2 separate regions of the Homo sapiens genome follow, and region 2 is linked to region 1. Evidence: promoter capture Hi-C in human tissues and cell types (Jung and others, 2019). All regions are on one chromosome and are shown on one strand. The core of a region is centred on a gene start or on the middle of the fragment in contact, and the rest is flanking DNA. Distances in the headings are between cores, read along the strand shown. Region 1 holds the start of WDR4 (WDR4 tRNA N7-guanosine methyltransferase non-catalytic subunit). Region 2 overlaps TRAPPC10 (trafficking protein particle complex subunit 10).

Evidence for each region. Contacts are between HindIII fragments. The study calls those that stand out against the background at their distance.
Region 2: a fragment that was not itself captured here is called in contact with the fragment with the promoter of WDR4 in region 1 in 1 of the 25 tissues and cell types used here (spleen).

Annotation. Positions count from the first base shown.
Region 1 is chr21:42,878,219-42,881,993 of GRCh38, reverse strand. WDR4 (WDR4 tRNA N7-guanosine methyltransferase non-catalytic subunit) reads left to right here and starts at 2,455. Exons shown (of 11, transcript NM_018669.6): 1 at 2,455-2,587. The coding sequence starts at 2,499. LOC105372817 (a long non-coding RNA gene) reads right to left here and starts at 2,282. Exons shown (of 4, transcript XR_937765.3): 1 at 2,239-2,282. RefSeq lists enhancers at 2,203-2,552, 2,623-2,732, 2,763-2,812, 2,465-3,429, 3,430-3,775. The HindIII fragment of the contact is 11,595 bases long and covers 1-3,775 here.
Region 2 is chr21:44,064,105-44,067,796 of GRCh38, reverse strand. All of the region lies in intron 7 of TRAPPC10 (trafficking protein particle complex subunit 10), which reads right to left. Among named protein-coding and RNA genes, the nearest start is that of PWP2, 41 kb to the left of the region's middle. RefSeq lists enhancers at 1-542, 2,097-2,146. The HindIII fragment of the contact is 3,943 bases long and covers 1-3,692 here.

The sequences.
Region 1 (3,775 bases), core at 1,206-3,705:
CCCCGTCTCTACTAAAAATACAAAATTAGCTGGGCACGGTGGCACATGCCTGTAATTCCAGCTACTTGGGAGGCTGATGCAGAATCGCTTGAACCCGGGAGGCAGAGGTTTTGGTGAGCGGAGATCACGCCATTGCACTCCAGCCTGGGCAACAAGAGTGAAACTCCGCCTCAAAAAAAAAGAAAAAAAGAAAGCCATAGTTTTTATGAGCTTGTTGATCTATATCTAGGACTACAAGGAAGATATGCATGCTACAGACATTTGTACCTAGCAGTAGGTGCTACTGTAACATGTGGCATTAGCTTTGGACTAGAAGTCTGGAAAAGCAGTGGGGAAACTGGTAGTGAACACTGGAACAATGGTGAGGAAAACTACGGGAGGTGGACAAATGGTGAACAACTCTATGTCACGGTGAAGGATTTGTAAAATTGTTGCCCTTCAGTAAGATGGGCAGAGAAAAAGGCAACTACTGAACTCTGGGACTTGAAAAAGATCATATCAGTATAATGTTGAGATTAACCTGTGTTTCTTTTGCTTGAATATGTTGAGACACTTATAGAAAAGAGTGTGGTTAAAAACAAACAAACAAACAAACTGGCCAGCAGAATTTAGAGCACACTTTGGGTTGAAGCTGGGGAAAGTATTATTAGACCCAATAGTTGGTAACAAGTTCTCAAAGTAAGTCATAACCTGGGCCAAAGATCAAATTCAGAGTGGCGCTAATAAAATATGGCCTTAAGAATAATGCTGAAGTCAAGGTGATCTCAATGATTTAAATGTTAACAAGTGGCTGGGCGCGGTGGCTCACGCCTGTAATCCCAGCACTTTGGGAGGCCGAGGCAGGCGGATCACAAGGTCAGGAGATCCAGAACATCCTGGCTAACATGGTGAAACCCCGTCTCCACTGAAAAATACAAAAAATTAGCCAGGCGTGGTGGCGGGCGCCTGTAGTCCCAGCTACTCAGGAGGCTGAGGCAGGAGAATGGCGTGAACTCGGGAGGTGGAGGTTGCACTTCAGCCTGGGCGACAGAGCGAGACTCCGTCTAAAAAAAAAAAAAAGACTAGTGGGAGTGGCTTCTTGGGCATGGAGAGCACCTGAATCAGATTCTTGAGAAGCCCATAAAGCTTTTAAGGGACTTGTAGTGAACAAAGCACCACCAGCTGCCAAAATGTGGACAGAACAGTTTAGAGTGAAAAAAGGTCTGTGGGCTCACAATTTGCTAATGACAGGAAGGAGGTTGAGAAAGTTTCTCAAAGGGCACATTCTTCAACATGGCCAAGAAGGTGCTGGAAAAGGAGGGACACCCAAGAGGGCAGAGGCAAGAGCTGTGCTGAGATACAGCCTGGGGAGATACTCCCAGGAAGCAGAACTCGGGCCTGGTTAAGACTTCTTATTCTTGTAGGGCCTGAAAACATCTTCCAGTAGGATTTCAGAATTGCTTTGGACCAGTGATTACTGTGTCTCCTCCTCTTCTCATTTTCACATGCAAGTATTTATTGTGGTTATCTGGTCCCGGCTCACCATCATATATTGCGTGCACGGGAGAGAAAATTAATCTTTTTAGTTTGTAAGTCTCTGGATCAAGAGGAGCTGCACCGGACAAGCCAATCTAAAACAGACCGTGAGATCCTAGATTTTGTGCCTGATGCTGGGATTGTAAGAGGCTTTTGGGGATCTTGGGATGAACACTGGAAACTAACCATAGTTTGGGTTGAAAATATCACTACAGTTCGGAGATTTTAAGGCATCTGTGGCTTGTCTAAGTGCAAAGATTCAGTAGGCTTACTTCTAGCGACCTCAGACTTGACGCCACCCGAGACACCCTCACCCATGACCACATCTTGGACATTTTTTTTTTTTTTGAGAGAGAGTCTCGCTCTGTCGCCCTGGCTGGAGTGCAGCGGGGGCGATCTCGACTCACTGCAACCTCCGCCTCCCGGGTTCAGGCAATTCTTCTGTCTCAGCCTCCCAAGTAGTTGGGGCTACAGTCGCACGCCACCACGCCCAACAAATTTTTGTACTTTTAGTAGAAACGGGGTTTCACCATATTGGTCAGGCTGCTCTCGAACTGCTGACTTCATGTGAGCCACGGCCCCCGGTTCATTCACTTCTTGAAGGATCATTTACCAGGCATCTAGTAGCCATCATCAGGTCCTACGTCTCTCCAGCTACCGCGGAAAAAGATCCAGAACCAGCCCTACCCCGTCTAGAGGAAAGGATGAACATTAGGCAAGTACTTGGAATCGTGCGAAGTGCACTCCATCAGATCACCTTGGTGAGTGAACTGCCAAACCCGAAACACCGAAGGCCACCAGCCACAACCCGGAGGGCGGTCACAGCACCTTTCACGCATGCTCAAGGCAGGCTCGTCCTTGAGCATGCGCGGTACGTGGGGTATACGTCATCTCTCGGCGTCTGCGCCTGGCGTCACCGACCGGTGCGGACAGGAAGAGGCTCTGGGCTGGCACATGTGTATGGCGGTGAGGCGGGCGGGTACATGGCGGGCTCTGTGGGACTGGCGTTGTGCGGGCAGACGTTGGTGGTGCGGGGCGGCAGCCGATTCCTGGCCACCTCCATAGCAAGCAGGTGAGGGGGCCTTGGTCTTGGAACAGGGAGACCAGGCTGCGGGCGCGCGTCGGGTCCTGGCGACCCCGCTTCTCCCGCACCGCCTGGTCGCACCCACTCTGGGGTGACCCCGGGGAACTCCGCTCCAGCCCACGAGTCCTCCGCCGCAGTCTCGGCCTGGCCGCGTCTCTGCGCCTGGAGGGTCCGCTTTCGCCGTCCGCTCTCGGCGTCCGCTCCCCGGCTCCGGCGCGCTCCTTGCACTAGATGGCTGGTCTGCGGTGTTCTTGCCCGGTTAGCGCCGCCGGGTCGCTTCCGGTCTCCGCGGCGCCGGCGGGGACCGGGTAGGTAGAGCACGTGGGGCGACGCTGACCAGTCAGCAAGGCCCGGCCGAACACGCTCTGCAGAACTGGGAAGAAGCGGGTCTCGGGTCTCCCTGGTGAGAAGGGAGGGGCTTACTCACTGCGAGCTCACTGACCTCCAAGCGCGCTCCCTCTTTTTGCAGGGTTGTCTGTTCCCTCTTCCCGGCCTGCATCCACTCACCTGGCCTTAATTGCTCCTTAGGGCTCCAAGTCATCTCCGACACTTACCCAACCCAAGGGTGCACGTGGAGCTCGCAGTGCGCACCTCCCTAGTGGCCCTTCGCACGGCTCGGGTTTTGCTTTCCGTAATTTTATTCTCCTTCCTTAGTGTATCGCCAGTGCTAGGACGACGCAGGGGATTTTTAACTTAGTAAATGTTTGTTGATGGAACAGTCCTAACTCAGGACTCTCGGAGCAATTAGTAGTGCTGTCAGTTTCAGCCCCTCGTTTCCTTTCCCAGGTTATTTGTGATTTCATATTTGAAACGGACGACGTGTCTGTCAGATATACTGTATATTTTTTGTTCGTTTGGTTTTAGAAAGCCAATTCGATGTTAAGTTAGGTCTCACAAAAATTGTACTCAGAAACCCGTCACATATCCCAGATGATTTTGTTTTAGAGACTCACGGTCTAATATCTGCCAGAGTGAGCTGTGGATATATTAGACATGATTTGCTTACCTTCAGTCTTTGCATTTTGAGGAAATTCTAGTGGCTGGTGGAGTTTCTGACTTGGAAGACAAGTCCACGGTTCCATATGGAAAGTTTTTTGGTGCACTCGCTTTAAAGGCTATAAATATGTACAAGATACGTGCCAGGGGGTGAGGATGGGATAAACCGAAGTTTAGGTT
Region 2 (3,692 bases), core at 502-3,001, 1.2 Mb before region 1:
AAAGCTTCCCTAGCACCTATCAGGCACCTGCAAATGTTTACCAAGCTGACCTGAGGCATCCGGCAAAGCTGCCTTTCCCTCCCTTACAGTCCCCTGTGTGCAGACAACACTTCGTCACTACTTGGACACTGTGCTGATGACCCGTGGCACCTCATGCCGGTAGGTGGGGCCCTTTCCTCTTCATTTATGTGCACCCCCATCCCTGTCTCCCACAGTGCCTGGCAGGCAAGGAAACGTTTCTTGAATGATTCTTGACAGTCCTCTCTTTCCTTTTGTCCAGTGAGCCATCAGTTCTTCTTCAGCAACAGCTCTCACAACCACCCCTCCTCCTTCAATCCAGCTCCTCCCCCTCATGGCTCATGGGTGCACAAGATCCTCCACCTACACATGAGAGCACCCACCCAGCAGGGTGTCGGGTACACTGTAAGCCCTCAGCAAACACAATCTACATTCCCACACTACATCTCTGCCTTTGTCCTCTGCCAGGCCTGCACCTCAGAATACCGATCCCAGCTGGCCAGCTTTGACTGTAAACCTTCTTCTTCCTCTGGTTCAACCTGCAGGTTGGCCACACACAGCCTCTGTTCACAAACCGGCCAGCTAACTCCGACGGCGTCCCATGCACGGTTCCTCCGTGCCACAGGCTAGGCTGGTGACTCCCCTGGGGTCTGGAGGAGTCCTGACCCTGCTAGGCCCACACGGTCTGTTACATAACCAGCAGCTAAGGTGATAAAAGGTCAAACGCTGAATGAAACACATTCCAAACCCCCCCAAAAAATCACTTGGGCAATCATTGTAACAAACACATTATGGCCTTCAAGAAAGTATCTTCCCCGTTCTTCTAATTTGGCGACAAAATATATAAGTATCATACTTTTTTCTTACCAAAGGTGCAGGAAAACAGGCATCACTAGCATGACTGAAAATGGGAAGACCTTTCTGGAGGACAAATTAACAACATATAGCTTTAAAAACATGTCTATCTTCGACCTTCCAATTCTACTTGTATGAATTTACACACAAAGATGTATGTATAAGGATACAAACTGCTGCAATTGCAAAGAATTTTGAAGAATTCAAATGTCCAAATAGGAGCAAGGAAATAACTGCAGTTCATCTATACATAAGAAGGCCATGGACAAAAAAAGGGAACCTCTTCCTGCTAGCAAAAGCAACGACATTTTCTTCGTATATTTGTCTGTTATTTTCCAAATTTACATAAAGAAAACATTCAACTTTTGTAAATGGAGGGAAAATTAGAAATTGTTACAGAAAAAAAAAGGAAATACTCTGTCAAGGAGGATCCTGAACTCACGCAGAACTGGCCTCACTTCACGGGTGTTACCGCTCACCCCAGCAGCCAGCTGTGCAAGGTAGGCACAATCTCCATTCTTAACACATTTTCCATTAAGGGAGTGCGCAAGGCTAGTAAGCAGCACCCACAGGGCAGAGGCCTCTATCCGGCCGTCTTGCTCCCCTCCTCAGCCCCCGTCGCCCCTGGAGTGTGGATCAAGCCCTACTACAGAGCAGGGCTAGTTTCCATCACAGCTGGCCACTTCGTTGCCTCCTATTCTCTTTAAATAAATGAGGTACTTCAAATCAACTGGTAAAGCAACCAGGATGTTAGCAGGACATGTTTTATAAGCCACCCACTCGAAAGTGGGACAGTGGGATCTGCAACTGACAGTGGCACACCTACCCCCTGGCCTCTGCTCAACTGTAGCCCTAAAACCTGACTCTCACCAAAAAATCCTAACAACTAGACTGGAGTAAAAACTACTGCACAAGAGAGAAAAACACAGCCACGGGCAGCTCAGACCTGTAATCCCAGCACTTTGGGAGGGGAGCAGGGAAGATCACTTGAGCCCGGAAGTTCCAGACCAGCCTGGGCGACACAGTGAGACACTCATCTCTACCAAAAAATTTAAAAATTTAGAAAAAAGGAGAGAAAGAGAAACACTTCTGACGTGAAGTTACCAGCGAAGCCCTCTAAGTAAACAGTGTGAATCTCAGTGTTGATCAAACACAGGTGCAAAGTGTGCAAAGAGGATTGTGTGGGCTTCAACACAAGCGACAAGGGAGGCTGTCCTCTCTGGCCTGGGAAGCCGACAGGCACAGCGCATGTAAGGAGGCGCAGCCAGCTGTGTGCATCAGAAGATGACGAAACAGGAAGCGGGTTCTTAGAAGGAAAGAGACTGACAGACTGTGAGAAAGTCATCAGTGGGTGACACGTCCTTGCCTCAAATCCAGCATTCACCTTTGGCCACCTCCTCTCACTGGAGATGCAGAACTCAACCGTGCAAAGAGGTGCAATAGCTATGACTAAAAGCAATGGGGCAGCTTCCACTCAAGGAAAGGCCAAGGGGACAACAACTTCATTCAGCAAAGCAAAGGGCTCGGAAAATACACCACGGATAAGAGGCTCCTCACACGATACAAAGCCTTGAAAATACCTGTGACTTCCCGGCCCTGCAGACGAGCACCTAGAGGAGCCAACAGACCCCGTATGGCTCCTGTGAACCCCGACGCTACAAGGGAACTCCAGAGCCCACACCCTCTATTACTTACACATTTCTCCTTCCAGCCACAAGGTAATAACAAAACTAACAGCCCTCTCCAATCAGCCTCCTGGGGTCGTCTCACTCAGAAGACATCATGTCTGAATCATTTGGACTTGAATACTTCAATTTTCCCCCCTCCCGGCTAGTAAGACAAAAATCTCAACATCAGGTGAAATCCCTAGGTACACATGAACAGAGAGCCCGGCTCTAGGAGTGAATGGTTCCCTCACAGCCCCGTCCCCAACCTGCAGTTAGGGCTGAGCAACCCAGGCAGAGTCTCTAAATCCAGGTGATTACAGGCAGCCCAGAGGGTCATTTCGAGGTGGAAAATGTTTCTTTTCCTCATTTGCTTCATTAGGTGAAGAAAAATCATTTGATAAAAATTCTTAAGTTTCTGAGTTTGTGACTTGGGCTAGGTACTAATGAGCTTAGCTCTGAAATAAGAACTTCTCCTTTTGAAATTAACTAAAATATATTTCTCTTCATTAATTAAAGTTTAAATCTCTTAAAATTATTTTAAACCAAGCACACAAAAATAAGTTCCTATATTATGAAACACCGTCCCCATCAATGGCTTATACTCTTCAGACCTAATCACTTCCAGACTCCGTTTTCTTGTTTACAAAACAGCATCAGAGACCACTCACTCAGGAGATCTTAACCAGGGGATGGGTGGCAGGGATGTACACAAATCCTCAGGTCGTAAGTATCATTTTGTGTGTGTGTGAATTGTTTTGGGTAAAGAGGACCCTGAAACAAGAATCACCAGACTAGATACGGTCTCTACAGTCCTTTCATCTCACTACAATGTCCGTGGTTCTATGGACAGTAAGAGTTCAGTGCTTGGGTGAATTTATCTCTAAGGGCAAATGTTTTACTAACTACATTCTCACACTCACACACACACACACACACACACACACACACACACATATTTATGACATATCTTCCATGAAGCTCCGTACTACTAATCAATGGGGCACAGCCTGCTGTGTGTCACTCACATTGCTACCTGCATGGCCATGTGCAAAACTATTTATCTGAAAAGACAAATAAATAAATGTCTACATGACATAAGTGTCTGAAATAAAATAAATGTCTACATGCAAAATCTAGCTCTGCGTGTCCCTC